Linked DNA regions of Homo sapiens: regions 1, 2, 3, 4, 6 and 7 are each linked to region 5. The links are contacts of gene promoters, found by promoter capture Hi-C in human tissues and cell types (Jung and others, 2019). All regions are on one chromosome and are shown on one strand. The core of a region is centred on a gene start or on the middle of the fragment in contact, and the rest is flanking DNA. Distances in the headings are between cores, read along the strand shown.

Evidence for each region. The method cuts DNA at HindIII sites, captures the fragments that hold promoters and counts their contacts. A contact is called where the count stands out against the background at its distance.
Region 1: a fragment that was not itself captured here is called in contact with the fragment with the promoter of ENOX1 in region 5 in 2 of the 25 tissues and cell types used here (dorsolateral prefrontal cortex and mesenchymal stem cells).
Region 2: a contact is called between a fragment that was not itself captured here and the fragment with the promoter of ENOX1 in region 5, in 1 of the 25 tissues and cell types used here (mesenchymal stem cells).
Region 3: a contact is called between a fragment that was not itself captured here and the fragment with the promoter of ENOX1 in region 5, in 1 of the 25 tissues and cell types used here (lymphoblastoid cells).
Region 4: a fragment that was not itself captured here is called in contact with the fragment with the promoter of ENOX1 in region 5 in 2 of the 25 tissues and cell types used here (dorsolateral prefrontal cortex and mesenchymal stem cells).
Region 6: a contact is called between a fragment that was not itself captured here and the fragment with the promoter of ENOX1 in region 5, in 3 of the 25 tissues and cell types used here (hippocampus, mesenchymal stem cells and spleen).
Region 7: a fragment that was not itself captured here is called in contact with the fragment with the promoter of ENOX1 in region 5 in 3 of the 25 tissues and cell types used here (hippocampus, lymphoblastoid cells and mesenchymal stem cells).

What each region holds. Positions count from the first base shown.
Region 1 is chr13:43,456,742-43,460,345 of GRCh38, forward strand. All of the region lies in intron 3 of ENOX1 (ecto-NOX disulfide-thiol exchanger 1), which reads right to left. ENOX1-AS2 (ENOX1 antisense RNA 2) reads left to right here. Exons shown (of 4, transcript NR_120399.1): 3 at 1,716-1,729; 4 at 2,189-2,747. Among named protein-coding and RNA genes, the nearest start is that of ENOX1-AS2, 9.7 kb to the left of the region's middle. The HindIII fragment of the contact is 4,663 bases long and covers 1-3,604 here.
Region 2 is chr13:43,281,364-43,284,965 of GRCh38, forward strand. The region is part of intron 12 of ENOX1 (ecto-NOX disulfide-thiol exchanger 1); the gene reads right to left. Among named protein-coding and RNA genes, the nearest start is that of ENOX1-AS2, 170 kb to the right of the region's middle. The HindIII fragment of the contact is 6,665 bases long and covers 1-3,602 here.
Region 3 is chr13:43,416,679-43,419,987 of GRCh38, forward strand. The region is part of intron 3 of ENOX1 (ecto-NOX disulfide-thiol exchanger 1); the gene reads right to left. Among named protein-coding and RNA genes, the nearest start is that of ENOX1-AS2, 31 kb to the right of the region's middle. The HindIII fragment of the contact is 4,481 bases long and covers 1-3,309 here.
Region 4 is chr13:43,436,881-43,440,147 of GRCh38, forward strand. The region is part of intron 3 of ENOX1 (ecto-NOX disulfide-thiol exchanger 1); the gene reads right to left. Among named protein-coding and RNA genes, the nearest start is that of ENOX1-AS2, 10 kb to the right of the region's middle. The HindIII fragment of the contact is 6,833 bases long and covers 1-3,267 here.
Region 5 is chr13:43,784,651-43,788,290 of GRCh38, forward strand. It overlaps ENOX1 (ecto-NOX disulfide-thiol exchanger 1), which reads right to left and starts at 2,322. Exons shown (of 17, transcript NM_001347969.2): 1 at 2,002-2,322. The HindIII fragment of the contact is 9,406 bases long and covers 1-3,640 here.
Region 6 is chr13:43,399,595-43,403,052 of GRCh38, forward strand. All of the region lies in intron 5 of ENOX1 (ecto-NOX disulfide-thiol exchanger 1), which reads right to left. Among named protein-coding and RNA genes, the nearest start is that of ENOX1-AS2, 48 kb to the right of the region's middle. The HindIII fragment of the contact is 5,494 bases long and covers 1-3,458 here.
Region 7 is chr13:43,381,048-43,384,226 of GRCh38, forward strand. The region is part of intron 5 of ENOX1 (ecto-NOX disulfide-thiol exchanger 1); the gene reads right to left. Among named protein-coding and RNA genes, the nearest start is that of ENOX1-AS2, 66 kb to the right of the region's middle. The HindIII fragment of the contact is 4,530 bases long and covers 1-3,179 here.

The DNA of each region.
Region 1 (3,604 bases), core at 72-2,571, 330 kb before region 5:
GTTGGGGAATTGGTAGAGTCAGTGTGAGCTAGGGAGGGCAGGGCCTAACTACTCCATATACTCTGTTGGTCTGAAGCTCCTGGCAATCAATTCTCCTTTTTCCAGTCTCATGACTCCTAAGCCTCCACAGCATCCCGTGCATGAATCTGAAGGCTTTGCTCAGTGCACCTCAGCTATTCCTCCTCCATCACTCTGCTGTCTTCCACAAATTGCCTGATATCTCACATTCAGTAGCCTCTCCTCTGTTCTCTCATTTGCTTTGTGTCCCTGCTTTGTGGTTTTTAAAATTCTTTACTAATTTCAGTGAGATTTATTTTTTGTTCTTTACTAATTTTAATGAGATTTATTTTTTATTCTTTACTAATTTTAGTGAGATTTCTGGAACAGGAAGATATGAAAGCATGTGTTCAATCTAATAAAACCAGAAGTTTCTAGTGTTATACATTTTACTTTGTAGTTATATGTACTTATGTATTTTGTTTTGGTCTAGTTTGTTTGTCCAGAGAACTTTATGAGTTACTTGGACAAACTAGTAACCACCTCACAACTACTGTTAAGGAGGGTATTGACAAAATCATTTTACTTCTTTGTTATTTTTTAGGGATTATCAGGCAAGGTCAAGTTGACTTTCCATAAATGTTATCTTTATCCAGATAACAGCATTTTGTTATCTTGGCTCCAGAAGTTTGGACAAATAATCAATTTGAGGTAGACGCATATCAATTTATCAATAAGAAGGAAGGAAGACTATAAGGAGGAGGGAAGAAAGAAAGCAGAAAGGGAGGGAGGGGGAAGGAGAAAAAGGAAACAGACATAAAAGATTTTAAAACAGAACAGCAGGAAGACTGGCCCAACTAAATAACTATACTAAGAAAAGCTATGTATGTTCACTAAATAAGAAGATAAATTTCGGAAAATCATCTGGCTTTAAGATAATTCCAAACAATGATCACTGACTTGGAAGGCAGTTAAGCAATTTATGTCACTGAATGTTAATGGTCAAACTACGTTTTATCAGTCAACAAAATGTACCCAAAATGCATATGAAAAGCAGTATAGCCTGCAACAGAACCTATCACATAATGATTTTTCACAATTACATGTCCAGACCAACTTCTAACTATATACTGACTCTTACCACTCTGAAATATATCTATTTTTTGGCTCAAGAATATATGTGTATATGTATGTACCAAGGTATATATGTGTGTATTCCTCCCCTCATCTCCCAAAGAAATTTATGTTAGCTTGCAGGTAATCCTTTTACTTGAATATATGTTTATTTTCCTGCTTATATTTCTTATAAATTTGTCTAGCTCAAATTATGTAGTCCTCTATCCTCTGTCATACTCAATTATGGACCAATAACTTTTTTAAAAAAGTTAACTATGTTGTCAACAACATCACTTCCAATGTAGCCATCATCATATCTTTGAGCTTAACAAAAAGCTTGACTTTACAGTCAGATTGACCTTATTTTAAATCCCCTGTCTTCCATTTACTAAATAAACTCCCCGATAGGAAAATGGACATATTCTCTATTTTGCAGGATTTTATGAGAATTAAATCATACAATGCATATAAAGCACCTGGCATACTGTAGGTACCCAATTAAAAAAAGCTATTCAAGTCAGAATATGAGATGATATTGAAACCTTAAGCTGTCTAAAAGTACATCTTTTCCAACTGACTAATTTTTCATTTCCATTTTTTAGGCATCGCATCACTGGTAAGCTGGTCACCTGGAAGCAACGCATCAGTTAGCCACTGAAAAGGGGTGTGCAGAGCTCTTACAGAAAATTGAGAAAATCATTATATTGATATATTGATTATATTAAGAAAATCATTATATTGCTATCTACTTTTATATAAGTAGGGGAAAGGGAGGACTGGACAAAAACAATAAAGGAAAATATTTGGCCCAGCATCAGTTTCTTGACCCCTTTAGAATTCTATTTAACTACAAAATTAGGAGGTTATATGAAGTCCCTCCAAGTGTTCAGGACAAAGAGTTCTGTGGTTAGATGATTTTGAAACACACCTCGATCGTCTCACACCTCCCCCTCCCCATTCTTGAAGCTTTGAAACACATATGAGTTTATTCAAGGTATCTGTCCCATTTTGTTTTACCTTCCGTTATACAAACTTACTTGACTACAGACTCTCCCCCTTTTTTCTTTTCTTTCAGGTAATATTTATTGACATACTTTGGAAAAGACTGGATGAGTTGCTCTGCGACTTCCCACTCTAACATATGTTTCTCTGAGTTTCTACAACTTCAGCTAAATGTTTTAAGGAAGAAAAGAACAACAGAATATGTGCTAATTTTGATTGATTGATGCTCCCTCCTATAGCAGCATACAAATTTTAGAGTGGGAGAAAAATCTATTACGATTTCAATGAAATGAGCTATTTTATCTTGTCCCTATGTGGTACCATCAACATTTTAGACAGATGAACACCAAACCATTGACTGAATTGCTGCATAGTGGATTTGCCTTGATTATAAAGACAGTTGAATGACCAGGGTACCTCTGGCAATTTTGGCAATCAATAAGTAACATGAATCAACTATGTAGTGGTCAGACTGGCTACCCAGTGCTCAATCAAAACAGAAAATAACAGAGATAAGTTAATCCTTAGGTTGCAGGACTATACCATGATACCAGCATAAAACTCAAATGGACATTCATGATGAAAAAATGTTAATGCTATCATTATACAATAAACTGCTAAAAGTATTTTTATTAGTAAAATACTTTCATTTTTCTATCAATCTAACAACACTTATTTTTATCTGAAAGGAGGGTACTATGCTAAACGTCACTGGGACTAAAAGGATGTAGAGTAGGAAAAGGGCCAAAGATCCTACCAGAAAATGATCTAGGAGCCATATGTTAGTTCTGTCAGTAATTTTCTATGTAGCTGTCAATAATCCTTTGTTTTCTCTTTGTAAAAATAACTATCCTCTGCTGGGTGCGGTGGCTCCCACCTGTAATCCCAGCACTTTGGGAGGCTGAGACGGGTGGATCACGAGGTCAGGAGTCTGAGGCCAGCCTGACCAACATCGTGAAACCCCATCTCTACTAACACTACAAAAAAATTAGCTGGGTGTGGTGGCACGCGCCTGTAGTCCCAGCTACTCAGGATGCTGAGGCAGGAGAATTGCTTGAATCTGGGAGGCAGAGGTTGCAGTGAGCCGAGATTGCACCATCGCACTCCAGCCTGGGTGACAAAGCGAGACTCTGTCTCAAAAAACAAACAACGACAACAACAACAAAAAACCAAAACCAAAAAATAACAACAAGAAAAAACTATCCTCAAGGGGCTTATTGTTTAGTTAATTATATTTACAAGTTTGGGATTTTTGCTCCATGCCTTCTTTTGTTACAAAATTATCCTTAATTTACCTACATAACAGAGACAAAAGTGAGTGAATATTTTGATGTTCTTTAATTAATTACATGCCATAATACCCCTCCTTCATCTTAACTGCAGAAATTCTGTGAGAACCTATTGCAATGTTTTCCCTTTTTCTCTTGATATGTCTCTTTCCCCTCAAGGCTGCTAAGGTTTTAAAGTGTTCTGTTTCTATTTTTTTCAT
Region 2 (3,602 bases), core at 630-3,129, 500 kb before region 5:
CCAATCTCCTCTGCTTCAGAAACATTAAATATAGAAAGCATTAAAGAAGTGAGCCGAGTTAGACCTTTTGCAATAAATGGTGTCAGCATGGCCATGAATGATAACAGCAAAAAAGGCCTCCAAGATATGAAAATTAAGAGAAATTAGAGCCCCAGCTTCACACTTATTATTAATATCCACATGCCTGTGATGAAGTGCTCCTCTAGCTTTAGCAGTCCCCCTACTCTCAGTTGGCAATTGCATACATTTTAACATTGCATGTGATGTTTACCCGTGAAAATTTCCAATCACAAGTTTTGCTGAAGTCATCTGAAAGTCCAGCTGCTCACAGTGATGGCACAAAAAAGATGATCATTTGTGATATATGGGTATTTAAGTTTTCACTGTAGAAATACGGGAGGGATAACACCAAGGTTAGTGTTGATGACTTTTCAAAAGGGAAGAATAGGGAGACCACGTTTTTAGGGTCTGCTGGTAGACTTTATGTAGCAATCTTTTTCTGCTTCCAGGGACAATTTGAAAATGTAAATCATGATACAAAGCAAGTGACATAAATCAGTTGCATTCTAGTCCAAGTGATTATATGAGGATTGAAAGAGATTATATCGGGATTAATCTGGGAAGGTTAAAAAAATCACATTTTGTCACTGAGGTTGCTGGGGATAACCTTTAACAGGATAAGAAAGTTCCTTTCTATTCCAAGTTGTTAAAACCTTCATTTTTCTTGGTTGTTTTAGTTTAAAATCATGAATGGATATTTGGTGGCCATCAAAATGTTTGTATTATTCTGGTTTTGCCTGTTAATGAGATCTATTACATTGATAGATTTTTCAAATGTTGAACTTACCTTGCATTCCTAGAATAAATCCAATTTGGTGATTTATAAAATACCAGATTAATTTTGCTTTTCTAAAGGAATTATAAATCTTTGTTTATAACTGAGCCTGGCCTATAATTTTTTGATTTTAACTTTTAACTGTCCTTGTTTTATTTCAGTATTAAGTATACTAGCCTTACGAATTAGTTGGAAAGTGTGTCTTCCTTTTGTGTTCTCTGAATGAGTTAGTTAAAGATTGGTATTCTTTTTTCTTTTTTTTTTTTTGAGACAGGGTCTTGCTCTGTTGCCCAGGCTGGAATGCAGTGGCTCGACTGCAGCCTCGACCTCCTAGGCTCAATGATCCTCCTGAGTAGCTGGAACTACCGGCATGTGCCACCATGCCTGGCTAATTTTTAAATTTTTTATAGAGACAGAGTTTTGCCATTCTACCCAGGCTGGTCTCAAACTCCTGGGCTCAAGGGATCTGCCTGCCTTAGCTTCCCAAAGCGCTGGGATTACAGGCATGAGCCACCACACCCACCCTTGGTATTATTTTTCTTAAATGTTTGGTAGAACTTGCCTATAAAGCAATTTTGGGTCTGTTGCTTTGATATAAAATTTTAAGCTATTGGCCAGGCGCGGTGGCTTATGCCTGTAATCCCAGCACTTTGGGAGGCTGAGGCGGGTAGATCACGAGGTCAGGAGTTTGAGACCAGTCTGGCCAATATGGTGACATGCCATCTCTACTAAAAAAATACAAAATTAGCTGGGCATGCACCTGTAGTCCCAGCTGCTCGGGAGCTGAGGCAGGAGAATCGCTTGAACCCAGAAGGCAGAGGTTGCAGTGAGCCGAGATCACGCCACTGCATTCCAGCCTGGGTGACAGAGCGAGACTCGGTCTCAAGAAAAGAAAAAAAAAAATTTAAGCTATTAATTCGAGCTTTCAATTTCTTTCCAATTCAGTTTTGATTAGTTATTTTTTCCTATTGAAATTTGTCTGTATCTCCAAAGTTAAAAAATTGTCATAAAACTATTCCTAATATTCTTATATTTCTTTAGTCTCTGTTGCATCTATAGTTATACCTTATTTTTAATACTGTTTTTAGGTTGTTCTCTTTTTTTCTTGATACATGTTGCCAAAGATTTTCCATTTTATTCATCTTTTCAAACATTTGGCTGTGTTGATCTTCTCTATTGTATGGTTGGTTGCTATTTTAGTTATTTTTATTCTTTGTATTATCCCCTCTACTTTGTGTTTATTATTTTTTGTTTGTTTATTTGAGACAGGATCTCACTCTGTTACCCAGGCTGGAGAATACAGCGGTGTAATCATGGCTCACTACAGCTTTGACCTCCCAGGCTCAAGGGAATTATCCCACCTCAGCTTCCCAGTTATCTGGGACCACAGGCACGTGCTACTATGCCTAGCTAATTAATTTTTTTTTTTTTTGTACAGATGGGGTCTCAGTATGTTGACCAGGCTGGTCTCAAACTCCTGGGCTCAAGCATATCCTCCCGCCTTGGCCTCCCAAAGTGTTAAAATTACAAGTGTTAGCAACTGTACCTGGCCTATTTTTTTTTCAATAGAAATTGGATGCTTACCTCACTGTTACTAGTTTTTTTTCCTAAAACAAAGTTTTAAATTTTTCCTTTAAGTTCTGCTTTAGCTGCGTCCCACAAGTTTTGATATATTATGTTTTAATTATCAATTACTTCTAAGTATTTTTAAGTTAATTCTGATTTCTTTTTGAAGCTGTAAAAATGATGTATGTTTTAAACTTTCCAGATATACAAAATTTATTTTAGTTATTTTTGGCACTGATTTCTAACAATTTAGTGTGGTCAAAAAAATACAATACCACTCTTTTGACATCTGTTGAGATTTGCTTTAAGGCCTAGTATGGGATTAATTTTTGTAAATGTTCCCAGTATATTTGAAAAGTATGATTTTCTTTATATGTCCTACATATTGAGCTTATAGTAGTATATATTTACAATGTTATGGACTTCACAGTTAGGCCTTTACAAAAACTTCCTGAAAGTGAAGTTAAGTGGCACTGAAGATAAGAAATACAAACCGTTAGGAAAGAAATATAAACACCAGAGAGAAGAGGACAAGGTGCACGGAGAATGAGAGAACAAAATCATGGCATACCACCCTATGTTTAAATGACTGAAAAATGTGTAACACACTGACTCAGCAAATGACTCAGTATAAAATGTAAATCATGGGTGGAAATATACATATCTTAATACCATGAATGAGAATTCCAAAGCTGGCCAACGAAAGCCACTCTGACTGAATCTGAGTGATACCTGGTTTAAAATAAATTAAGATGGTAATGGTGGTGGAGGGCATAAAAAATAGAATGCAGTTGTCTGGTGGGTCAGCAGGATGAATTAAGAGAACAAAAGGAAGAAGAAAATATGATAATTTATTTTTATCTCTTTGAAAAGTCACTGTGTTGGTCTTTCATTTATAAGCGCTACTTATTACACTCTTCCTTGGAAACTTACTGACAAAGTTCAAATATACTTTCTTCTTTATTTTCTTCCCCAGTAAATAAGGCTGTTGTGGCTATTTGTTAAAGGTGTGTGTGTGTGTGTGTGTGTGTGTGTGTGTGTGTGTGTGTAAGAGAGAGAGGGGAGATAGGAATAGAGACAGAGACACAGAGAAGAAACAGAAAGCGCAAAAACTGGAAACTGGAGAGGTAATGAGAGGCAATTATAAAAGAGGAGATAGAAATATGTAGAGAAGGAGAGTCAGAGACACAGAGAGAAGAAA
Region 3 (3,309 bases), core at 704-3,203, 370 kb before region 5:
TTCCCAGATGGGGTGGCGGCCAGGCAGAGGCGCTCCTCACTTCCCAGACAGGGCGGCCGGGCAGAGGGGCTCCTCACATCCCAGACAATGGGCAGCCAGGCAGAGACGCTCCCCACTTCCTAGATGGGGTGGCGGCCGGGCAGAGGCTGTAATCTTAGCACTTTTGGAGGCCAAGGCAGGCCGCTGGGAGGTGGAGGTTGTAGCAAGCCGAGATCACGCCACTGCACTCCAGCCTGGGCAACATTGAGCATTGAGTGAGTGAGACTCCGTCTTCAATCCCAGCACCTCGGGAGGCCGGGGCGGGCAGATCACTCGAGGTCAAGAGCTGGAGACCAGCCCGGTCAACAGGGTGAAACCCTGTCTCCACCAAAAATACAAAAACCAGTCAGGCGTGGTGGCGTGCGCCTGCAATCCCAGGCACTCGGCAGGCCGAGGCAGGAGAATCAGGGGAGCCCGAGGCAGGGAGGTTGCAGCGAGCTGAGATCACAGCAGTACAGTCCAGCCTCAGCAACAGAGGGAGACGGGAGACGGGAGACGGGAGACGGGAGACGGGAGACGGGAGACGGGAGAGGGAGAGGGAGAGGGAGAGGGCCAATCTAATGGTTTTAATGACATACAACTTACTGTGGCTACCATGTGCCTGGGATGGTGATTCTAAAGTAAGCTCTGTCACATCTTAGGAATTTCCAATAGTCTCAAGGCTGCCGTGACATTGTTCACAAAATTTAAGTTGATTCGGTCACTCATTTTGGAAGAAAGGTAATACTTTTAATTAATTACCAACTAGTAATTTATGAATAGTTGCAAGAATGATTTTGGTACTTTGTTAGCATCTATTGTTCCTATTGAATACCTGCCTCTTTAAATGATTCAAGACCATAATGCCTAATTTATCATTCACATCAATTTCTCTGCCTTAGTTTTATTATTTCTAAACTATAGAAAAGATTAATCTTCTTAGCGATGTTTATTTACACACAGAGATGTGGGGAGTTAAAAATTATAGCTAATAAAGCACTCTGAATACAGTAGGTGATAATTATTACTATTTTATTTGGAAATGTAGTGTTTCCATTAAGATACCCTGGGATCTTTGTGTTCTGGTAGATAATTATGTAATTAATTCTAAAACAGTGAGTAACACTTGATATTTCTAAAAGTAAGTGTTGCCCTAGTTTTCTGTGCCACACCTCAGTTGGAGCACAATATTTCATTTTCCACCATTCCTTTATAAAATTATATGAGGTAGGCCAGGTGCGGTGACTCACACCTGTAATCCCAGCACTTTGGGAGGCCGAGGCGGGTGGATCATCTGAGGTCAGGAATTTGAGACCAGCCTGACCAAAATGGTGAAACCCTGTCTCTACTAAAAATACAAAAATTAGCCAGCAATGGTGGCGCATGCCTGTAGTCCCAGCTACTCAGGAGGCTACGACAGGAGAATTGCTTGAACCCGGGAGGCAGAGGTTGTAGAGCCGAGATCACACCACTGCACTCCAGCCTAGTTGCCAGAGTGAGACTCCATCTCTAAAAAAGTAAATACATAAAATAATATAATGTAATTTAAGGCTGGGCGCAGTGGCTCAAGCCTGTAATCCCAGCACTTTGGGAGGTGGAGGCGGGCCAATCACCTGAGGTCAGGTGTTCGAGACTGGCCTGGCCAACGTGGTGAAACCCTATCTCTACTAAAAATATAAAAATTAGCTGGGTGTGGTGGTGCATGCTTGTAATCCCAGCTACTTGGGAAGCTGAGGCAGGAGAATCGCTTGAACCCAGAAGGCAGAGGTTGCAGTGAGCTGAGATTGTGCCACTGCACTCCAGCCTGGGCAACAGCAAGACTCTGTCTCAAAAAAATAAAAATAAATAAAAATAAATAATACGATGTAACTTAAAAGATGTATAAATATTTTCTCTCTAGGTTTTTTCTGCCTATGCAACTACAAAAACTTTCAAGAGATTCATGACCAATTATGAAATTGGCAGTTTCTACTTACAGCTTTAATGAAGTATGAGCACCACAAAACAATCTGATACACAAAATGCCAAGGATAAAAGTACAGCTTTGTTTGGCCTTAACAGATATCTAACTTGTTTCCTGTTAAGATATATTCAAGTATAAAATCTCATACCAATTTCATAACTGTTCAACAAAATATATTTATGTTCAGTATTTCATTGGGCTAGATAATGGGGCAAATATTTTTTGAAACTTATCAAGTCTATGAAAATACTATTTGGCTTAAAAAATGGCACAGGTTTGGGAGGCTGAGGTGGCAGGATCACAAGATCAGGAATTTGAGACCAGCCTGGCCAATATAGTGAAACCCCGTCTCTACTAAAAATACAAAACTTAGCTGGGTATGGTGGCGGGTGCCTGTAGTCCCAGCTACACGGGAGGCTGAGGCAGGAGAATCGCTTGAACAATTTCTATAGGTATCAGCGATGCACACATCATGAATAATAAAACCTACCTGTAATTGTCCACAAAACACAGATTCCTGTTAAAGGAGGGTAGAGATCAGCTAGGTATTGAAAAATCCTTCTTATTGAAAAAAAGAAAAAGGCTGGGTGTGGTGGCTCATATCTACAACCCCAGATAGGAGCTAATATCTATAATCCACTTTGGGAGACCAAGGTGGGAGGATTGGTTGAACCCAGGAGTTTGAGACCAGGCTGGGCAACATAGGGCGATTTCATCTCTACAATAACCTTAAACAGTTAGTCAAGCATGGTAGTGCCCTCCTGTCGTCCCAGCTGCTCAGGACGCTGGGGTGGGAGGATTGCTTGAGCTGGGGAGTGAGGGGTGCAGAGGTTCCAGTGAGCTGAGATTGTGCCACTGCACTCTAGCCTGGGCAACAGATTGAGTCCCTGTCTTAAAAAAAGACAAAACAAAACCAAAAAAAAGCATGATTTTGTTTGGTCTAAGTCCTTAGGTTTATACCTACTTCAATAACAAAATAATTGTGGTGAAAGAATCAGATTTCTTAATGTCTTGTAAACAGTTGATACCAGGCCAGGCACGGTGGCTCATGCCTGTAATGCCAGCACTTTGGGAGGCCGAGGTGGGTGGATCACTTGAGGCCAGGATTTGAGACCAACCTGGCCAACATGGTAAAACCTCATCTCTACTGAAAATACAAGAATTAGCCGGGCGTGGTGACGTGCACCTGTAGTCCCAGCTACCTGGGAGGCTGAGGCAGGAGAATGGCTTGAACCTGGGAGGCAAAGGTTGCAGTGAGCCAAGACCAAGCCACTGCACTACAGCCTAGGCAACAGAGTGAAACTCCATCTCAAAAAGAAAAGAGCTGA
Region 4 (3,267 bases), core at 455-2,954, 350 kb before region 5:
GAAACAAAAAGAGATGCCACTGTAGAAATCACTATGGCTTACAATAATTTCTCTGATGAATTTTGATTCTAAAATGACAAGTAATAAATGGAACCAAGGACACGAGGGTAAAGACAAACACCAGTGTGTGGGAATAATTCCTAGAAGAATGCTGAAGAGGCCTAAATACAGGACTGGGATCGAACATTTTGAAAAAACATACCAAAGGGATGTTTATAGAACATATTTTTTAAAGTCTTCAAAAGAAGAACAAGGAAAAATAGCAATACTTTTGGGGAAGGCCATTAACAATAAATAGCAAAGATGACAGAACTGTTCAACTCCCATTTTGTGAATCCACCCCTGCAAGCAAAATAATCCGCACATTGGGAAGGGTAGAATAAACAAAATACGCATGGAATTTCAGCCTGACGTGGTGATGGGGGGATTTACTCACCAACCCAGAGCTAGCATCAGACATTCACAGAACAAGCCAGTAAGACCCAATCCTGCAACCAACATAATATGACACTAGGTTAAATGCTTCCACTTTCCTTTCCCGAAAATCTGAGCTTGTGGCAACTTTATCGGGATTCAATCATTTGACCTTGAGAACTTAGTGCAACTATGGAAATGACCCATAATGACTACCGGAATTCCAAAGAGTTGGTGCCAGTTTTAGAATGACAACTTACTAGGTTTGTGACCTGGGGCAAAAGATACAGGATGAGACTGATTTTCACATATTAGAAGTAAAGCGGATATAGAAGGTGAACTAGATTAGTTAAGCAATACGCCAAAGAATGGACTTAGTGCCAATGGTTAGGGTTTATGGCGGACCGATTTCAGGGTCATCCATTCTTTTTCCCATTCATTCAGTGAATATTTAGTAACTTCCACTGTGTGCAGCACCATTTTAAATTCTAGGTGAACAAGAAACTCACTCCAAAGAAGGGAGACCTGGAAAAATAGGTCAGTATAAAGCAGATAAATGGGTAAATGCATTAAAACGCAGGTTAACAGAAACAACACAGAAGAAAAAACAATTAACTTTGAAGGTAATTTTAGATTTTCTCCAAGGTTAAATAGAGGAAAAAATTGGTGGGGAGGGATAATAAAACACCTTAAAATGTGTTTCAGGCATGACAACACTATGATCAAAAATACTTCTGTGTGAAAAGTATGTGGCATGATACAGAAAATGAGTATTTTTGTTTGGCTGTAGTTTAAAGGGAACATGGTGAAAAAGTGGAGAACGATGCTAACAATGTAGGCAGGGGTCATGCTAAGGAGTTTAATTCCTACAGGCAATGGAGACCAAATGGAATATTTTAAATGGGGAGTGACAGGGTCAAATTTGTAATTTAGAGCAATAATTCTTAGAGAAGTACAGAGTAAGCTCTACAGGAAGACAAGCCTGAGGAGGGTAAATCTATTTGGAGGTAATTATGGGAGACCAGACAAGATGAGGCAGTGGCAGCGGAGATGAAGAGAGGGAACAGATTTAAGAGGTACTTCTGGAGACAGAAGAGATAGCAATTGGAATGTGGAAGTGAGAGGGAGTGAGTGACATGTGTGAGGGCCCAAGAAGGTAACATTCAAAAATGAATCCCAGGTTTCCACCTCAAAGGAATTGTTGGATAAAAATAGGGATTTCCATGGCACAAGAACACTTAAAGGATTAGTTTAGTTCAGGAGGAAAATGTAAGTTTTCCACAGAGCAATCAAATGCTTCAATATTAAACTTACAAACCATACAAAAATGTATCTGTCCCCTGGATGGCTATTTGCTTCCCTCAGTAGCCACAAAGCTATGTTGTATGCCTGGCACACAGTGGCTCTCAACCTCTGATGGGCATTGGACTTGAATCAAATTGCCTGAGGAGACTTTTCCAAATGCATATGCTTGGTCTTCACCCCCAGGAGATTCTGATTTAGTGGATCTGATGTGAGGTGCAGGCATTTTTTAAAACAGCTCCAAAGGAGATTCTGATATGCATCCAAATCTGACAGCCACTGTAGTATACAGTCGATCCATAGCTCTTTGAGTGATTAGTTAAAAGGAGGAAGGGAAGGAGAGGGCTTCTTGAAATTTTTGAAGAAGCAGCTGGTTGACTTTCTATGCTCAACAGTGTATTATTGTGTGAGAAATTTACTAAATGAACTTTCCTGTCTTTTAATCTTTTTTTTTTTTTTTTTTTGAGCGGAGTTTCATGCTTATTGCCCAAGCTGGAGTGCAGTGGTGCAATCTCGGCTCATTGCAACCTCTGCCTCCCACCTCCCGGGTTCAAGCAATTCTCCTGCCTCAGCCTCCCGAGTAGCTGGGATTACAGGCACCCGTGGGTCACACCTGGCTAATTTTTTTGTATTTTTTTTTTCACTTTTTTTTTTGAGACGGAGTCTCACTCTGTCACCCAGGCTGGAGTGCAATGGTGAGATCTTGGCTCACTGCAACCTCTGCCTCCCAGGTTCAAGTGATTCTCTGACCTCAGCCACCACGCCTGGCTAATTTTTGTATTTTTAATAGAGACAGGGTTTCACCATGCTCGTCAGGCTGGTCTCGAGCTCCTGACCTCGTGATCTGCCCACCTCAGCCTCGCAAAGTGCTGGGATTACAGGCGTGAGCCACCGTCCCTGGCCTTCCTATCTTCTAATCTTAAGGGTCCACAAATGTGATGTTATAGTGTTCCTGGCTTCAACTTGCAGACAGAACACTGGCTGAGAGATTACTGGACTCACTCAAATTCAATCTTTTCTTATATTTTTTTACATTATTGATGAACATCCCTTCTTATAGCAACTCGTTCTTTAACATTTTTTGTGTGCTTTTACATATTTTTCATTTACTTTTTTCTCAATGTCTATTCCTCCTACTAGACTGATGTTCTATGAAAGCAAGCATTCTGTTTCTTTTGTTCACTATCGTGTATGTAAGCACTGACCTAGCAAAACACACACGTTCAGTCAATAAATGAGCAACGAGCCAGATTTTTCTGGTGAAACATTTGAAGCCACAATGCATTATTTTCAATATGCCTATAGGTACATCCATGAGTGTATTATAGATTCAGAAAATGGTTTCAGAAATAATCAAAAGCATACAGCTATAGGCAAAACATGTTTATATATATGTATATTTTTTACCTCGAGGAAACCTTTGACTCCCAAAATTTTTATGTTATGTAAGACAGCCCCTTACATCAGCAAATAAAATTAAAAATAGGGAATAAATATCTAAAAGGGTGAATTAGGCACAGAGGTGTAGCCTGAGAAATAGAAGCTAAACCT
Region 5 (3,640 bases), core at 1,072-3,571:
TCCCCACTTTGTTTTGATATGGGTCCCTGGGGAACAACAGTCATGCTATGTTACTCTTGCATATTTCACTAGCTTACAAATAAAATAACACACAGTGTACTCAATATAAAGTTGTCAACATTAACTTGCATCAGTTGCTGTTTGTTTCACATTGACAAGGCTTCTAAAGATAAGAATTACAATATTCTTAGATGTACAGACACAACATCAAAACAGCCTGAAGGAATTAAAGCTGGAAAATGCTAGAGGCAATCACGCTTTGAAATGAAGAGAAATCAGTATCATTTATACGTACACATATATTTCTTCAAAGGCTCTAAATAATGCCAGAACAATATGCATTTTATGCAATGCTCATCCGTCTTCCCTCACAATATTCCGAAAGCACTTTAACTGTTTAACGCATCTCCTCCAAGAGGGCTTTCACTTTTTCAAACTCATTATCACTTTCAAATCTGTATATTACAAGAAACTGGAATGAGCAATATCCATTACATGAATAGACATTATTAATATAAAGTCTCTATCAAAGTGGCAACGCTAGTAAAACAAAAGCAGAGTGTGTTAACCATAAACTAAGTACCAGCCAATATTACCACTTTGCTTGACAGAGCCGTCTCCAACAGCACGCACCCACCTCTCGAGCGGGCCCACCAGCTCAGCTTTCCAAGCTCGCTCACCTGCGTCTCTCCTCCAGGAATCAATTTCCTTCCCACTTTCTCCACCCTCTTCAGATCCCTTAAGCACGCTTCATTGCTTTCTCCAAACTACCAGACTCAAATCTGCAGCCCAGTTGGCCAGGAACCTTTCCATACGCACGTATTTCCTGCATTCTCCTGGGTCTGCTTTTAAAAATTGCTACCACCAAACAAATGCAATCTTAACAAAATTGGGATTACAAAGCCAGTTTTTTTCATGTAATGTTACAGCAGTGAAAGATTGAGGGAGAGAAAAGGAGAGAAGCAGGAGTGTATCTGGGTGAAGAAGCGTGGCTCAGTGGCTATACAGTGAGACGCAGAGATTCCACAGAGCTGGGCTTGCCCACCTGTCGACCCCACTTTCCCCATGTGCTCGCCGCGGGATGACAACCACAACACTCCAGAACCACCCCCCTTCCGAAAGAGGGCGGGGTTACGCCTTCAGCCAATCAGGACCCGCGAGCCCCGGGTGTCCAACCTATGGGGTGGCTGTGGCCGTGCAGGGGGAGGACGTGGGGTGGTCTGGGAGGGGCCGCGTCCGTGGGAGGCTCGCACGTGTCGGGTCCGGAGAGGCGGGGAGGCGGCCGGCGTCCAGCGGCCGAGGCGCGGGCTCTGCACCCTGGCAGCGGCCGAGTCCGGCTGCCCCAGTGCCTCCTTTACCTCGCGTTGGGCCAGGCAGGGCGCGCTCCCGCCGACGAAGACCTGTCCAAGGTGTCCGAGCTCCCCGCGAGAGGGGACAGTCACGAATAACAACAGTACCCAGCGCAGACTAGGCGGGGAGGAAAGTTTCCGGCCCGCAGCAGAGCGGAGTCCGCCAAGGCTGGAGGAAAAGGGATGCAGAGCGGGAGGGTGAAAACCTGAAAGAAGAGGGCAGCGGGAACACTGTGTGGGCAGGAACGGGTCCCGGGGGCGACGCCCGCAGGGGGAGACGGGTGCGGGGTGCGCTGTCCAAGGTGCAGGGGAGGTGACTGGCGCGCGGCGGGCGCGGAGCCCGGAGCTGACACTGGCTGGCGGGCGGAGGGGAGAGCGGGGAACAGCTGTCTGGGGCGCTGGGCACCCCCGGGCGCGTAAAAGTGAGGGAGCTTGAGACGGGGCACGGCGGGGAAGGGCGTGGGGGCTGCACCGAAGCCCCCACGCGTCCACGCACCCCTCCTCACCAGCCTCACCTCTAGCTCCACTCCCCTCCCCCCTCGCCCACTCCCCTCTCAGTCTAGATCCAGGTGCCGTGGCGGGGGTGAGACCAGAGGACCCCGGCTCGGAGCCCGGACGCCCCAGGGAGGCTGCGGGCCCCGGAGCTGCTTACCTGGGGCCGCCGTATGGGGAGCGGAGGCAACCCGCTGCGCGGAGTGGGGCGCCGGGCGCGGCGCGGCTCCTCCTAGCCTCGGCGTCCTCCTCCTCCTTTGCTTCTCCCGGACTCTGTCCCGGGCACGGAGCTGGGAGACGCGGCCGGGCTGCAGTCGCCGTTCCCTCTGCTGCCGCCGCCGCTGCAGCAGACAGAGGACGCCCCGTGGCGGCTGGAAGCCTGTGTGAGTAGCGGCGCCCGGGAGAGCGGGGATCTGCTGAGGGGCGCTGGAGACTCCGCGGCTGGAGGCGCGCGGGCGTGCGCACGCGCGCCTGCGAGTGTGAGTGTATGGGTGCGCGCGCGCCCACGGGGTGGGGGAGTCGCGAGGGGAGGGGGAGAGAGGCCGAGAGATGCTCGTAGGGACCGAGGCAAAATTCTACGACCCCGGAAATCCGTAAACGCGGGGAAGGAGGATCGAACGCGTGTCTCGCTTGGAGAAGCTGCCCACGGGGCGGCAGCAGAGGAGGAGGGGAAGTCAGCGAGGCGCGCTAGGGCTCCGGATCCCAGCCCGGCAGAGCCGAGCGGAGCGCGCAGCCACCGATGCAGCAGAGGCGGCGCCCGCAGCCCACGGTCGCGCTGCCCCCTCTCGGGAGGGGCCGAGGCCGCTCGCTCCCGCCACCGCCGCCGCGGTCGGGACTGCTCTACTGGGAGCGGGGGAACCGAGAGAGGGACCGCACGGTTGCTACGGCGACCTTGGAGGGGCCGGGCCCGCTGAAGGGCCAAGAGAAGAACCCGGGCGCACGTGGCCGACTCCAGGCTGGAGCGGGCGTGTTACAGGATTGTGGGCTTGGGGTAGACGGTGGAATTGGGCCGCGTGGCCTGGGCAGATGATGCGGGGTGTGCGGCCCAGAGTGGCTCGGCCGGGGTGCGGTCAGCATTCAGGTTGGTAAGGGTGAGGGGATCCTAACCCCAGGTGACATGTTGCCTTTTTTTCCTCCTTGGAGGCTACTTTTTCTCAAAGTTACCCACTTCCCAGGTAAGAATGCCGGCCTCCTCTTTGTTAGGATTCAACTTAGCTGTGCAGGCATCTAAGCAGTGCCTCCTTAGAGTCAGGCTCGTCCAAGAACCGCTCCCACCACCTCCCCACACACACCCACATCCCCCGATCCTCCATCCCAACTACATTGTAATACTTCAGAAATAAATGTTTAAAGCACATTTACATTCTCTGCCTCTTAACAGATATATTGTCTTAGTAGTATACTTTTCCTTGCTTATTTTAAATTCTGAGTGGGATTTTATTCACACAAGCATTTCTTCAAGGGTCGTAAGGTCTGGGTAATACTTGAAATACCCTTTCTGGCAGGAATCCTCAATGCAGGGATTGTGTTTTGCACACTTTTGCATGCCTTCCAGTGCTTAGCATAGTACTCTGTACTTTGTGAGTTCCCTGTAAATGTTGAATGAATGACATTGTTTTCTAGCTTCACGTAACCTGAAGGCAAAGACTTGGATGCTGGGAAAGTCATTACCACCCCACTAGGCTTGCCTGATTTTAACTTATGCCATTTCCTTGTGTGTGGCTATTTTTCCCCCTGGCGGTCAGAACCCCAATGCAAAGAAAGAAAATAATACTTATCCATTGTGCACCCTTAACAAA
Region 6 (3,458 bases), core at 10-2,509, 390 kb before region 5:
ACACTTCACCGATTCTAGAAAAGGTAACAATTCTCTGATGATGATTATTCCCTCCTTCTTTACAGACAAACTCAGAGAAGTTAACTAACTTGCCCAAGTTTACGCAGCTAAGGGAACAAGCCTGGATTCAAACCTAAGACCTCAGGCTCTAAAGCCACCATCTGTCTCTTGCAGAGACAGTTCCTCAATGTTGAAGGAAAAATTTTTTCTCCTGAAAGACCACAGAAAGGATCCCCACATACTGCTGTAATAGGCTAACGCCCCTCTGTCCTTGCACTTTCCCATCTTTCCAACCCTCTGCTTGCCATCCTCAGCTCTGCCCATCCAGCCACCCCTCCACTTTCTTGCCTCATCAGCCCACCCCTTTTTTCATGGCTCCACTGCCACTCTTGTAGGAGTGTGTAGTCCAGCTCTGAAATTACTCTCCTGAAAATGCTCATGCCTTCTTTGTGCCCTTGTCCTTTCATTCTCACCACCTGTTAAAATCCAACCTTGGATAAACCCACAGAGAACTTCCTTCTCTGTGCCTGCCTACTGGGAGGACACAACAGTGCTGGAGAAAACCACGCAGGGCTCTCAAAGAGTGTCCAGACATTTTACCATATTTTTCTGGTCAGCTTCCTGTCTCTCCCCCAGTGAAACCTTCAAGGGTTCTCCCTTCTCTTCCAACCTTCCATTCCTCATCAGCCCACTTATCCTCAGCAGATGCCTGTCCTTTTCTGAGAAATGGAATCCATTAGCCAGGAACTCCCTCCACCTGAGTTACCAAATCAGCAATCCCACCTGCTCTGCATTCTGGACTTCCCATGCAGGATGTACATAGGTTGACTCAAGTCCATCTCATTTGTGTTAAACTTTAAAAATTCCAAGTTTCTGTTTTCTTTGAGAGAGTGTTACTTGCTTTCAGACTGCAATGTATATATTCTCTCCCATACTGATGATCACTTTTTGGTTATTGTCATAAACCTGAGTGCATGACCACCATAGTGTTATTCATAGAAGTCTACTTGATGTTACTAAGTTGTTCCTGGTTCAACTTTAGTACAATATCTAGATCACAGGACCCAGGTTCGAAAATGGAAATCTGCAGCATTCAAGGACAACAAAAAGTGATGTGCATAATAATTACATAATTGAAATCTTTAAATTTCAATGTAATACAAATAAATCTCTATGATTCTCCCCTACCCCCACCACGAATGATGTCTTTCCACCCAAGGTATTTATTTTTAAAAACAAAAGTGTAAAGATAGAGCTGGCCTTAGGCAAAAAACGTAGGAGACTTTGCTTTAATCATTTGCCCCCAAATCCTAATACAGTAGAAACACTTTAGGCAGATAGACCTGGTTATCAATTCCAGCACTGTTTCCTTCCAGCTGAGTAACCTTGGGTGAGTTAACTCACATCACCTAAACTCAGTTCCCTCATCTATAAAATGGGGTTAATAATATTTAGCTAGCAGAGGATTCAATGATGCAAGATATTAGAGTATTTGGCACATATTAGGTGCCAAATAATTATAGGTTTTATTATTATTCTTTTTAGTGTTCCTAGTAAAGTCACTCATATCATAGCCCCAGATCTTTAACTTCTTATATCCCTAGGCAATACATACATTCACTTTAAAAAGACTTTGTCTGTAAACTTCTGCTTCCAGCCACCAGAAAGTAACAAGGATAGAATTTATTCTCCTACTTTAAACAACTCAAAAATCAAACAAAATATATGAAATGACGGTTTTCAGATACTGTACAACAAAAAGTACAGGATAGTGATCATTGAGAGACGGGAAATAAATGAAGTGAAACTTATGATAGTCCCAGCCACTGTCTAGAAGGTTTCCAGGGCTTAATGCAAGGAAGAGAAACCAGAACAGAGCCTGAGGTCTGTCTGAATTAGACATCTGGGGAAACCAATGCCCCTGGAAATTTCAGGGCAGAGTACAAGAGAGGAAGGAGCCAATCAGAGAGAGAGAGCTTTGGAGATCTTCAGAGGTCCCCTCAGAGTCTGTGGCTGCATGTTGATTAGGAGAGACGGAGAGGGAAGTGCAAAGGCTGGGGCAAAAGCCACAGATGGAACCTTTCTGAAGCTCACAAAGGACAGGGAGTAGCTCAAGTTCTCGAGATCCAGAGAGAAGCAACCTCGCAATATGCCAGGAAAGAGTTCCCAGAAGTGTTTTGCCTCAGAAACCGGATGAAATTATCTCCAGTCTAAAGGCTGCTTAGATCCATTAACCCAAGTATAAAATCAAAGCCTTGAGAGAATCAAACTGTTTCCAAGGAACTTGACTGCATCTCAAAACAAACAAACAAACAAACAAAAACTTAAAAATATTTTAAAGAAGACAAAAAAGGAAAGAAAAAAAAATCCAGCACCTGACAACATAAAATTCACAACGTCTGGCAACCAATAATAAATTAGTAGGCATGCAAAGAAACAGAAAAATAAGACCTATCATAAAGATAAAAATCAATCAAGACAGAGATTCAGAAATGTCACAGATAATAGAATCAGTAGATAAGCACACTAAAACAGCTATTATAAATATACTCCATCTGTGCAAGAAGGTAGATGAAAGCATAACCATGATAAAGAAAGACAGGGAAGATACATTTTTAAAAAAGAAGGAATCTGAAAATATAATGCTCAATTATGAGAAAAATAAATCATGGATGTCAAATAAGGGGGCTGGAGGTCATAGTTACTCTTCATATCTAACTGATTGAAGACAGAAAATCTATAGTTTAGACAGTCTAAGGACCAAGTATAAAAGTGACTTTTCCAGGTATTATGCATTTTATGTAATTATTTATATAAATGAACCAAATTACATATTCATTCAACTATATAGTTACCAAGCACCCAGCTTTAATGATAGAGGAAATACAAAGATGATTAGCTACAGTTCTTTCCCATAGAAGAAGTCCAGCACAGTCTGTTAGACAGATGATAGAATAATTATATTAGCACATAAATGACATGTGCTTACAATTCAAGAATGCAGTATGTAACACACTGTAAACTAGAAGGCAGGCTGCAGAATAATAAAAGGAAATAAAAGCAAACAGTGGATCTGGAGCAGAAGTCCCCTACGCAATTAATCCATAGTTACAAATAAAAGACTTTGACATTAACCCAATGCAAAAATCCAATATACAATAATTCACATGCATGCACACACATATATACACACACTTATATCAGTATAGAAACACTCAAACTCATTCTAATATGGGAATTTAATTGTCTGGCTTTTCTTTCTACTCTCTGCTGAATTAGAATGTCCACTCTGAGCAGAGGATGCATTTCCTAGTGTGGAATGCAAATATTTTCCCTCAGCTTATTGGGCTGTTAAAGATACTGAAGCTTCTCTACTCCAGAGGAAATCAAGAAAATTAGGGAATGTATGTATTTGTGATATATACACATACAAAAATTATATATTATAGATTATATAT
Region 7 (3,179 bases), core at 354-2,853, 400 kb before region 5:
CAATTTGACCTAACTGACATCTATGGAGTACTTCACCCAACAAAACCAGAAAACACATTCTTCTCAAGATTACATGGGTATATTTATCAAGATTGGCCATATTCTGGGCATAAACCAAACCTTAATAAAATTACAAAAACACAAATCATATAAAGTGTATTCTGAGACCACAATAGTATTAAATTATAAAATAGTGATGAAAAATATCTAGAGAGTCACCAAATAATTAGAAAATAAATAACACATTTCTGAATAGCCTGTAGGTCAAACAAGAAACCAAAAGGGAAATTTAGAAGTACTGTGAATTAAAATAAAATTTCATGATATGCAGCTAAAACAGTACTTTAAAAATGTTTAAGGCACTAAATGCTTATATTAGAAAAGAAGAAAGGTCTTACATCAATGACCATGGCTTCTATCTTATAAAAAAAAAAAACCTTAAAAAAAAAAGAGCAAATTGAGCCTGAAATAAGCAGAAAAAAAAATTAAGAACAGGAATTAGTGACATAGAAAAACTATAGAGAAAATCAATGAAACCAAATGCTAGTTCTTTGTGAAGATCAATGAAATTGATAAAACTCCAGCCAGCCTTAGGCAGGAAAGCAGAGAAGATACAAACTGCTAATATTAGACATAAGGAATGTAACATAACTACAGTTCCCATACATAAATATCAAGGCATATTACAAAAATTGTATGTCAATAAATTTAACAACTTGGAATAGATTTCTTGAAAAACACAAATTACCAAAGCTCATTGAAAGAAAAACAAATAATCTATATAGCTCTGTATCTATTAAAGAAGTAGACTTTGTAGTTACAATTATTCCCACAAGGAAACTTCATGCCTAGATGACTTTGCTAGAGAATCCTACTCTAGTAGAGGTTAAATCTTAAGGAAAAAATAATACTAATTCTACACAAACTCTTCCAGAAAATTAAAGGGTATACCTTCCAATTTGCTTTATGATTCCAGCATTACTTTTGTTACTTAAATCAGATAAAAACATTAGAAGAAAGAAAAACTATAGACAATATTCAGCATGAACTTTGATGCAAATTCTAAACAAAATTTTAGCAAATTGAATATAGTATAATGAATAATACATCATGACTGAGTAGTTTATCCCAGAGATACAAGGTTGGTTTAACATTAAAAAGTAATTCACGTAATTTACCAAAGTAGTAGACTAAAAAAGAGAAACACACACACACGATCATCTCAATAGATGCAGAAAAAGCGTCTGATGAAAATCTGACATCCATTCTCTCAGTAAACTAAAAATCAAAGGAAATTTCCTCAGTAAAGGTTATGTACTTTAAAACTACACATATGATCATACTTAAAATGGTATTTCTTCATAAGGTCAGAAACAAGGCAAGGATATCCACTCTATTTCTATTCAGCCATCAGGATATATGACAACATGCGTGACTTTCAGAATAACTATATTGAGTGAAAGAAACCAGAAACTGAGTACATTCTATAGGTTTCATTTACATAAAATTCTGGAAAATGCAAAATAATTTGTAGAGACAGAAGATCAGTGGTTGTCTCAGGATGGGGATGAGTAAGAAAGGGGGTCTGAGTAGGTAGGAGGAAGAGATAACAAAGGGAACAGGAAATGTTTTGGTGTGGCTGATATGTCCATTATTTTGATTGTGATGATTTCACAAGTATATACATATGTCAAAACTTATGAAATTGTAGAATTTAAATATGTACAATTTATTGTATGTCAATTCATTAAAGCTATAAAATATAACAGATACTTTAGGTCATAGGTAAAAACGAAAACACTGCCACAGTGAACCAAGCTATATCCAGCCAAGGTCTTGGTTTCAACTAGGGAATGCATGATAGGAGGGCATGGTTGTCCTCCCTGGCAGCAACTTAAAAGCATCAGATATGCATATATAAAGCTTTTTAGTTTCCTAACAAGAGATACTTAATAGATCTCAAATTAAACAAACACAGCCAGTTATATGCCAATTCTATAGTTTTAGAAGTCAGCAAGCAGCATATTGGGGATTATGGATGAACTGAACAAAATCTAGCATAAAACATGGTACCAGACCTCAAAGGGTTTTGAAGACTGTCGATGATTTGGTAGAGTGATGCTAATTCTCACTCTCAACACAATCCAAGCGAGGAAATTTCTCCAAAATAAGATAAAAACTTGCAGGGTTTTAGGTGTCATTGTATATCTGAATTTACTCCACAGAAATTCTTCTCCCAACTTGTTAAATTTCAAGACTTCTCCTTGGAGCCATGAGCAGAATAAGAAAAACACAGATGGCTCAACTTCACGGTAATAATGATTCAAGGCAAGCAAACCTTCAGCTGTTTATATTTCAGATTAAAATAGAATTGAGGAGAGAAACATCATTCTGGGTGCTAAAATGAATATTAAGATAAAGCTAGTGTAAGTATTATTAATATTGCACTATTATTATTTTGGGTTTGCAATCCATAGGAAATCCATGTATGCTTCTGTTTGCTTCCCTTACAACTGGTATTTTAAATAAATTCTGCATGCTCAATAAATAGGGTCTATTTACTCAAAGGCGACAGACCCCATGGTACTCTCCACAAAGACTTCCCTCATGGCCTCCTGCTGCTGTTGTTTATAGGGCTGCAATTACAGAAAGGATTCTCAGCAGAACGAGCAATGACACCATTACCATCAACAGGAATTCTCCTGGCACTGTGGAGATTCTTTATTGAAAGAAATACAAAGCCAGTATGTTGCTAGTAGAATGCATGAATTTGTTGGGCAATGGCTTTCTCCTTCTGGACACCACCCTGCAGGTTAATGACTCTCAATTCTGAGCATCCTTCTTCTCTCCTTCCAGCAGGTGTTTTCACACCTTTCTAAGTTAAGTGTCCCAGAATGTAAAGGCTGCCACTACAGGGAGGCAGCAGGACACAATGCATGAGACTGATCGGCAGTGAAGCCGGACTGCCTGTGTTCACATCCCGGCTGCACCACTCACTAACAGTGTGACTTCAAACAGATTACTTAGCTTCTCTGTGCCCTGGTGTGCTTATTCCTAAAAATGAAGTAATAACAGCACTGATTTCACTGGGTGAGGATTAGATAAGGACTGAGATGCTTAGAAAAATGCCTGGCACATACACAATAAATGCAAGCAATTATTATTATTAACACAGCTTT